Linked DNA regions of Homo sapiens: region 1 is linked to region 2. The links are contacts of gene promoters, found by promoter capture Hi-C in blood cells and fetal thymus (Javierre and others, 2016). All regions are on one chromosome and are shown on one strand. Each heading gives the region's core, a stretch centred on a gene start or on the middle of the fragment in contact. The rest is flanking DNA. Distances are from core to core; before and after follow the strand shown. Region 1 overlaps CLEC16A (C-type lectin domain containing 16A). Region 2 holds the start of PRM2 (protamine 2).

The links. The method cuts DNA at HindIII sites, captures the fragments that hold promoters and counts their contacts. A CHiCAGO score of 5 or more calls a contact.
Region 1: a contact is called between a fragment that was not itself captured here and the fragment with the promoter of PRM2 in region 2, in 3 of 17 cell types (activated CD4 T cells, naive CD4 T cells and naive CD8 T cells). The highest score is 8.0, in activated CD4 T cells.

The regions. Positions count from the first base shown.
Region 1 is chr16:11,101,393-11,106,022 of GRCh38, reverse strand. All of the region lies in intron 19 of CLEC16A (C-type lectin domain containing 16A), which reads right to left. Among named protein-coding and RNA genes, the nearest start is that of SOCS1, 150 kb to the left of the region's middle. RefSeq lists enhancers at 532-671, 1,022-1,071. The HindIII fragment of the contact is 4,204 bases long and covers 661-4,630 here.
Region 2 is chr16:11,274,500-11,279,726 of GRCh38, reverse strand. PRM2 (protamine 2) reads left to right here and starts at 3,247. Exons shown (of 2, transcript NM_002762.4): 1 at 3,247-3,627; 2 at 3,790-4,088. The coding sequence starts at 3,357. The coding sequence ends at 3,827. All of the region lies in intron 1 of LOC105371082 (a long non-coding RNA gene), which reads right to left. The HindIII fragment of the contact is 881 bases long and covers 2,950-3,830 here.

The DNA of each region.
Region 1 (4,630 bases), core at 1,513-4,012, 170 kb after region 2:
TGAAGATCCATTTTGTTCCCAAGTTGAATAGCAAGGATTTGAATGGAAAGAGTTTGGATGGAGCCCTCTGTAGGACTCTTTCCAGAATCTCTTAACTCTGCAGAATCTTCATGTCTCCCAGCACACTCAGGGCCACTGAGGACACTGTATCAATGCTCACTTTACAGATAGAGGTGGATAAATCTGTCACTGGCTCACTCAGCAACTATCTGAGCAGTGGCTGTGTGAAGGGTTGGCTGTCTTTGTGACTGGTACACGGCCCAGGAGCAATAACTAACTGAAAGTGCCATTTTCAGGCAGGGAGCTGAAGGCTTGGGGAGGCTGGGTGCCTCAATCTCAGGTACCCACAGGCTGGGGGAAGTGCTAGCTTTGGGCTCAGCTCTGTCTGCTTCCAAAGGTGGGGTTTTCCACAGCTACTTCCTTTCTCTCAGTATGAAAGGCACATGCCATGTCTAGTAAAATGAGGTGACTGGTTTTCACAGTGGCCAGGAAAACCAGTTGTGTGTCTTCATCTTTCCCCCGTGTCAAATTTTAAGACTCTTCTTGGGAGAATGGAGGATGAGAATTTTACCCTCCTTGTTCCCATGTGTCCAGAACATGTATGGGGGCAGCCTCTCTGACTGCTGAAGTCTACTTAAGGATGAGCAACTTGCAAAAGCTTCACTCCTTGTTCCTCTTCTTCAATACGTGCAGTTCACAGCTTGACAACTTGGTGAAAACACAATTACCAGAAACCGAGTCCAAGGGAGCAGCAGTTCCAAGTACAGTCTGGCATATCCCCTTATCAAGTGACACCCAGCTGCCAGAGACACGATCTCATCTTACAATGCATCGGTGACCACACTTATCTCTGCTCTCGGAATGCCACATTTGCATAGTACATTGCATAATTTCCTCTCTGAAAATGGCCCTGTTTAGCATGAGTAAATAAAATTGCCTAACTCTGTGAGGCAGCCAAATGGAATACTTGAGATTTCCAAGAAAAGATCTGAATACTTAAGCTCATTATGCAGCCAGATAAAGTCACATGGAATCTAGGTTCACACAGCTCCTCTTCCCCGCTGTTCAGCAGCCCAGCAGCCCAGGAACAAGGGTATCCTGGTCTTCGGAAGCCCTCTGTGATGGCTCTGCTCTGGACCTTCCACAGGATGTGGTCAGGGTCTCTCTACCCCATTTGTGCCTAGGGCTATGGGGCTACTGTGTGTCGGGTACTGGGCTACAGGGATGAAGAAGGCAGATGCATCCTTACACTGGGTGACCCTTCAGAGGCTGTTTCCTTATCTGAAAAATGAGGACACCCCTACTTTGTAGGAATGCTGTTGGGAACAAGTAAGCTGGGGTGCAGAGAGGGCTTGTGATTTTTCTCCACCTTCGTGGTATGGGCCCACCTCTCCTTCCTCCCTCTGGAGAGAAGTTCTTGAAGATGGGGCTACATCTTCTCTTTCCCTTGGATTTCCTCTGTAAGGCACCTCATCAGAAAAGTACACAAGGGTATTCCAGAGAGCAGATCCTGGCCCAGGGTATTCTCCTTCCTTAGGGGGTGAGGTCCCCAGGCAGAGGACATAGTCTAGAGAATATGTTAAAACCTCTGGGATATGCTGGGTGTGGTGGCATATACCTGTAATCCCATCCTTTGGGAGGCTGAGGTGGGAGGATTGCTTGAGCTCAGAGTTTGAAAACAGCCTGGGCAATATAGTGAGACCCCATCTCTATGACTCCTAGGGAGATAATTTTAATAAAAAAAAAATTAGCTGGGTATGGTGGCACATGGCTGTAGTCCCAGGTACTTGGAAGGCTGAGGCAGGAGGACTGCTTGAGCCCAGGAGGCAGAGGTTGCAGTAAGCTGAGATTGTACCACTGTACTCCAGCCTGGGCGACAGAGTGAGACCTTGTCTCAAAAAAACCCCCCAAAACAAAACTCACCTCTGGGATCTATATTACTAACACTGCTAGAGAAGGCATCTGTGGGTGCCACACACATCTGTGGGGGATCCTGGTACCCACAGATGCTGGCCAGACCTCAAGGAGCTCTTCTGGTCAAATGGATCTGAGCCTGGCATTCAAGGCTCTTCTAAGCAAGGAGGCATTCTCTCCTGCTAACATCCAACCCAGATTCTCCTCCGACATAGGCCAGTTGTGGGGAAGAAAAGGCTTCATAGATGGAACCGGTACACCCATTCATCACTGCCTCAGACTTTTCATTCAAACATTTCTGGGGGTGCTGGACTCTGCTTGGCAAAGAGGACCACAGAGATGGGTAAGACTTGTCCCTCAGGGGTTCCTGTCTAGCATGGGAGCCCAAAGAAGTGACAATTACATGCCATGGGACAAGAGCCACAGCAGGGGAAGACCAGGAGGATGTAGACTGCTGGAAGACAGGCCATGACACAGCCCAAGGGTCAGAGAAGGCTTCTTGCAGGAGGTGATTTATTTTTATTTTTTTGAGACGGAGTTTTGTTGTGTTGCCCAGGCTGGAGTGCAATGGCGCATTCCTGGCTTATTGCAACCTCCACCTGCCAGGTTCAAGTGATTCCCCTGTGTCAGCCACCTGAGTAGCTAGGACAACAGGCATGCGCCACCACGCCTGGCTAATTTTTGTATTTTCAGTAGAGACAGGGTTTCACCATGTTGGCCAGGCTGGTCTCAAACCCCTGATCTCAGGTGATCCGCCCACCTCAGCCTCCCAAAGTGCTGGGATTACAGGAGTGAGCCCTGTGCCCAGTCAGGAGGTAATGTTTTAAATTGATCTTGAAAGAAGCCCAGCAATGGGCCAAGCAGAGGTGGAGAGCAGCGCCACTGGGCCTCTCTGGGGGGACTGCTGGCTCCTCCCCAGCATATTCTTGGATCTGACCCTTGTGGGCCCAGCACTAGCCTCCCATTTTCCACCAAACCTCTGGGGTTTGAGGCTCTTCACCTCATTTCCGCCAGAAGGTCCGGGGAGCATTCGCTTGCCCATCTCTCAGGCCCTCCCTCTGTGTCTGTCCCTGAGTTTCAGCCTCCAGGGACAGTTCAGCCTTGTGGTGAAGGCACAGTGAGGACCAGGCCGCCTGCTGCTTTAGACTGAGCTCTGCCCCTTACCAGTGTGGGACCTCGGCTTGTTGCCGTCTCCCCTCTGGCCCTCAGGTACCTCATCAGCAAATAGAGGTGATATTAACAATACTGTCCCTATAGTGTTACTATGAAAACTCAATGATGTTTGTAAGGTGCTAGGATAGTGCCTGGCACTTAGGAGTAACAGCAGCTCTCTGAGTTCCACCCAGCAAGAACCAGCAGGATTTGGTGGGGAGAACACTGAGCTGAGATGGAGAAGGGGCCTGGGTCTGATGCCCAGTGGGGCCACTTACTAGGCTGTGTGGCCTCAGTCAGGGCAACCGACCTTTCCAGGTGGACCTCAGCTTCCTTGTCACTCAAATGAAGCGGTTGGGACTAAACCACATGCCTCTTTTCTGATGGGAAAGAATGTCTAAATTTCATACCAGGGGACACATTTATAGCCGTTTGGCAGAAATTAGTTCACAGAGTGAATGCTTACCGGCACAGCAGTCTGATTTTTAATTAGCTTGTGGGAATTCAATATACTTCAAACATTAACAGTAAAATATAGGAGACCTCTGGTGGAGACAAGCTGTACCTTTGGACTTAAACAAAAGCGTATACCTCACAAACCAAATTCCCTGCTTTACGTTTTTAATCTTTTGTGTTCAAACTGATTACTAATAAACTTTGGGCAGCAGAGCAACATTCTGGAAGCATGTGATTTAAGTGAAACGCAATCTTATCAGCACAGCTGTGTGTAATACAATACCACACCCCCAATCAGATGGCCTTATTTAAACTACGTTTCAGCCATGGTAAAAATGGAGAATCTCAAACTATTTTTCCCTCTGAGTTTTTAATTCTTTTAAAAATGAACTAGGTGCGGTGGCTCACACCTATAATCCCAACACTTTGGGAGGCTGAGGTAGGCAGATTGCTCAAGCCCAAGAGTTTGAGACCAGCCTAGGCAACATGGCAAGACCGTGTCCCTACAAAAAAAAAAAAAAAAAGCAAAAATTATCTGGATGTGGTGGTGTGCACCTGTGGTCCCAGCTACTCGGGGGGCTGAGGTGGGAGGATCACTTGAGCCTAGGGAGGTCAAAGCTACAGTGACCATAATTGCATCACTGCACTCCAACTTGGGCAACAGAAGGATACCCTGTTTCAAAAAAAAAAGAAAAGAAAAGAAAAGAAAAAAATGAACTTGTACACGAACTACTTATGAAATTCATGAAGGGCAAAATAAAAAAGGGAGCTCCATTCATTCAAGAAACTTTTATGGAGTATCTTCTAGAACATTAGTTCTATGAGGGCAAGGATTTTTGTCATTTTTGTTCACTGCTCATGGCCAGGCACACGGTATGTGCTCACTAGACGTCTGTGGAGAGGAGGGATGCCTACCTTGGACATCCAAGGTGTTGGAGAGACAAGATAAAAGGCTCAGTCCCTGCTCTGTAGGACCTCACAGCCCAGTAGGGAGAAAACAGAATGAACAAGACACGCAGAGTGTGACACGCAGAGTGCGACAGTCAAGGACATGCAGGGAAGGGGCATGTACCATGGGCCAGAGGCAGGAGGGAACATGGTGAGTTTG
Region 2 (5,227 bases), core at 1,998-4,497:
ACGGTTTCACAACGTTATGTCCACCGAAGAAACAAAGGTTAACTTGTCCATCTGGTCGGATCTAAGTCCACACTCAAGCTGCTTGATATACCACCTATACTAAAATTTCTAAGGCAAGAGTTTAAGACCCCAGTGAGATCTGGGGAAGGACATAAGAAGTCCTGCTGGGCACTGGTCTCCTTGGCTCACCCACAGCCTAAGAAAGCCCACCTCTCCGATTCCTTGACACAGGCCCTGGGTCACAGTCATTTCCTGATGGTAGAGCAAACCCAGAGCATTTTGGCAGAGACCAGAGGCTCTGAGACCCAGTTCCCTGAAGTGACAGGGCCCACCAAGCACCTCAGAAATGTCACAGTATGACTTCTGTTTATGGGACACCAACTGTGTGCCTGGTATTCTGCATACATCACTTCCTTTTTTTTTTTTTTTTGAGACAAGGTCTCTTTCTGTCACCCAGGCTAGAATAGAGTGCAGTAGCGCAAACACAGTTCACTGCAGCCTCAATCTCCTGAGCTCAAGTGATTTCCTTACCTCAGCCTCCTGGACTCCTGAGTAGCTGGGACCACAGACATGCACCACCTTGCCTGGCTAATTTTTCTAATTTTTTTGTAGAGACGAGGTCTCACTATGTTGCCCAGGCTGGTCTCAAACTCCTGGGCTCAAGCGATTCTCCTGCCTTGGCCTCCCAGAGTGCTGTGATTACAGGCATGAGCCACTGCACTCACCTACGGTGGGTATCAACAACCATGTTCTTTCAAGTGAGCACATGAGAGTTCAGTGCTAGCCCTGGCACTACCATGACCCTGATCACTTTAGCAATGACTCCCCATAACACACTCGGATCATGATAGCAGCTTGGCTGGACAGGCAGACCCCTGGGTGTGCCTTTTTTTTTTTTTTTTTTGAGATAAGGGTCTTGCTCTGTCACCCAGGCTGGAGTGCAGTGGTGTGAACGTGGCTCACTGCAGCCTTGATCTGTGCTCAAGCAATCCTCCCATCTCAGCCTCCTGAGTAGCAGGAACTACAGGCACATGCCACCATGGACCCAGGCTATTTTTTTTATTTTTTGTAGACAGAGCCCTCACTATGTTGCCCAGGGTGGTCTCAAACTCCTGGGCTCAAGTGATCTTCCCACCTCGGCCTCTCAAAGTGCTGGGATTACAGGTGTGAGCCACCACACCCAGCCCCTTCCTATGTTTATTTTATTTTATTTTATTTTTTTAGACGAAGTTTCGCCCTTGTTGCCGAGGCTGGAGCGCAATGGTGCCATCTCAGCTCACTGCAACCTCTGCCTCCTGGGTTCAAGCAATTCTCCTGCCTCAGCCTCCTGAGTAGCTGGGATTACAGGCGCCCGCCACCACTCCCGGCTAATTTTTGTATATTTAGTAGAGACAGGGTTTCACCATGTTGACTAGGCTGGTCTTGAACTTCTGACCTCAGGTGATCCACCCGCCTCAGCCTCCCAAAGTGCTACGATTACAGGTGTGAGCCACCGAGCCCTGCCCCGCCCCTTCTTATTTTCATCTGCAAGCTTTGGCCATGGAGATTTGACTTAGCGGGACGTAGGGTAAGGCCTCAGCATTCATATTTTTAACACGCGCCCTCGAAGAGCTTGAGGGCCATCATAAAGGACCTTCTTATCCCTAAAGAGAGGCAGCATAGAAACACCAAGGGCATGGCAATATCACCCATCACCTCCTGTAAGGATCTGAAGATTAAGCCTCCTGAATTTGTTTCTTATTGCCACTGTGACAGATCATCACAAATTTTGTAGCTTTAAACAACATAAATGCATTATCTTACAGGTCTGCAGGTCAGAATTCTGAAAGAAGTCTCATGGGGCTAAAATCAAGGGGTCAGCAGGGCTGTGTTCCTCCTGGATGCACGAGGGGAGGATAACCCATTTCCTTGTCCATCCCAGCTTCTAGAGGCCGCCTGCATCCCTTGGCTTATAGCCTCTCCCTCCATCTTCAAAGCCAGCAGTGTGGTGTCTCCCAGTTTCTCTTCCTGTGACCCTCCTGCCTCCCTATTCTCTCTTCTAAGGACCCTCGTGACTGCACTGGGCCAACCCAGATCATCTGGGATGATCTCTGCATCTTCAAGTCCTTAAATTTGTGTATCTGCCACATTCCCACATTCTCCCTGCCCTCCATGAAAGGGAAACTGGTTTTGCAGTTTCTGTGATTCTGATCCCGGACTTTAATGGGATCATCAAAGTTCAATGAGAAGCCCCGGCAAGGCCGAGCGGGAGGGGAGAAGATGAATATTTTGGAGGCGGAGAGGGGAGCATTCCCTGGGCTAGGGAGGAGGTGGAGAGCCAAGGGTATGACTAAAACCAGGCTGTCTCCGTCTGAATGCTGGCCCGGCCTGGCCTTCTCAGCAGAGTGGCCTTGAGCAACTCAACTTCTTCATGCCTGTTTGCCCCACAGAAAATGAGGATTGTAAGAGTGAGGAATGCAAGGGTGGTGGCTCACACCTGTAATCCCAGCACTCTGGGAGGCCGACATGGGAGGCTCACTGAGGCCAGGAGTGTGAGACCAGCCAGGGCAACATGGTGAAACCCTATCTATCTCCACAAAAAATACAAAAAATTAGCTGGGAGTGGCAGCACACGCCTATAGTCCCAGCTACTCGGGAGGCTGAGGTGGCAGGATCATCTGAGCTGGAGGGGTAGAGGCTGCTATGATCCATGATTGCACAACTGCACTCCAGCCTGGGCGACAGACAGTGCCTCAAAACAAAAAGAGGAGAGAGAGAGAGAGAGAGAGAGAGAGAGAGAATGAGTGAATGTATGGGAAATAAATGAATCAATGCTTGGCACATAGGAGCTATTAGGGAACTGTTTGCTGCTGTTGCCATCTTAACAGTAAGCTGTGTGCACAGAGATCCAAGCACGGAAGTCCCTTCCACATGGTGGCTGTGGCACAGCAGTGAGTTGGCAAGGAAGCTTCCAAATGACAATGTGCGCACCCACCGGCTTGGGGAGATGAGGGCTTGGATTAGGCAATAAAACACCTGCCATCTGTATGGTTCACCTACTGCAAGAGACAGAGGACATGCTTTACAGGCAAGGCAAGGGGGTCTCTCGCCCTTCCAGCCCTGCAGCTTGGGTGCCAGGGCCCTGCTAGTTGTGACCCCTGGCCCTGTGCTGCCCTCACAGAGGAGGCTGGGCAGGGTGGGGACTGGGCGGGGCCGCAGAGTCATAGTGGGCGCCCCCTTTATATACAAGCTCCCGGGGAGCCTTGCAGACCAGACCAACAGTAACACCAAGGGCAGGTGGGCAGGCCTCCGCCCTCCTCCCCTACTCCAGGGCCCACTGCAGCCTCAGCCCAGGAGCCACCAGATCTCCCAACACCATGGTCCGATACCGCGTGAGGAGCCTGAGCGAACGCTCGCACGAGGTGTACAGGCAGCAGTTGCATGGGCAAGAGCAAGGACACCACGGCCAAGAGGAGCAAGGGCTGAGCCCGGAGCACGTCGAGGTCTACGAGAGGACCCATGGCCAGTCTCACTATAGGCGCAGACACTGCTCTCGAAGGAGGCTGCACCGGATCCACAGGCGGCAGCATCGCTCCTGCAGAAGGCGCAAAAGACGCTCCTGCAGGCACCGGAGGAGGCATCGCAGAGGTCTGCCTGCGCCCCCGCCTTGCCCTGCATGTCCCTGACCACCCCAGGCACAGGAGGGAGGCGGGGACCCACCCCACCTGACAAAAGCTCCAGCCCCCTAACCCCCGTCCCCACCCAGAGTCCCTAGGTGACCCCCTCAACCAGAACTTTCTTTCCCAAAAGGCTGCAGAACCAGGAAGAGAACATGCAGAAGGCACTAAGCTTCCTGGGCCCCTCACCCCCAGCTGGAAATTAAGAAAAAGTCGCCCGAAACACCAAGTGAGGCCATAGCAATTCCCCTACATCAAATGCTCAAGCCCCCAGCTGGAAGTTAAGAGAAAGTCACCTGCCCAAGAAACACCGAGTGAGGCCATAGCAACTCCCCTACATCAAATGCTCAAGCCCTGAGTTGCCGCCGAGAAGCCCACAAGATCTGAGTGAAACGAGCAAAAGTCACCTGCCCAATAAAGCTTGACAAGACACTCGCTGGCCTGTCGGGTTTTCTTTGCACGAATCACACAAACCTGGCTTCCCTCACGCCCAGGGCGGGTAGAGGCTTCTCTGCAGCCCTTCCTCAGAGGCAGGTAGGGCGGGAGTTCTGATGCTCTCAGGACACCTAGGAGAGGGTTACTGTGCCTGGGAGGCCACCCTATGATGCTGTCCTGTCTATTGTGCATCCTTCCATGGTGTCAAAGGCCACATTAGTCTGTCTGGATCCCCCTCCAGTGAAGAACCTGATCCTACCTCATGAAAGGAGAAAATGGTTAGAACAGATCGAGTCCTAATTAAGTCACAAAGATGCCAAGGCACCTTGTGGCCATATTTAAATGCCTACTGTGTGCCACAGTTTAAAAACACAACCCATCTTGAGTGTTGGGTGGTTGGAAGTGTAAACGGTGGGGGCAGAGGTGGGGGCACTGCTCAGTGCAGGCCACAGCTTCGAGGTGGGAAACAGGTCTGGCATGCTCCAGCAACAACTTGGTCAGCACAGAGACGGCAAAAGGCAAGGAGTAGATGAATGCAGAGTAATGGGCTGCGCTGTGTGAGGCCTGTGCTGGCTGAAGCCTCTGGAGACCCAGGCAGAATCCGATCCTTGTTGCCTGCTCTCCTCGGCCTGTGGCTGCATCACTCCTCCCTCCTGTCTGAAATCAAGGACCCTTGTGATTGCACTGAGGGACTTTCTGGACAACCCAAGATAACCTCCCCATCTCACAATCCTTACATCATAGATTCCAGGATCAGGAAGGGGGCACTTCGGAGAGTGCCAACCTTAGCCAACCATAGCCACTGAGGACTGGGGGGATAAGACTGGCAAGATCCAATCCATATGTTGGCAAATGGATTTCTGGTGCTCAGAAATGACCAATCTTTAGGAAGCAACGAGTTTCTGAAAACAAAACAACAACAACAAAAAAAAAAACAGACGGAGTTTCGCTCTTGTCACTGGGGCGGTGTGCAGTGGTGCGATCTTGGCTCACTGCAACCTGCACCTCCTATGTTCAACTGATTCTCCTCCCTAACCTCCTGAGTAGCTGAAGGAGCTAAACAAATTTTTTTTTTTTTTTTTTTTTGGTATTTTTAGTAAAGACATGGTTTCACGATGTTGGCCAGGCTGGTCTCG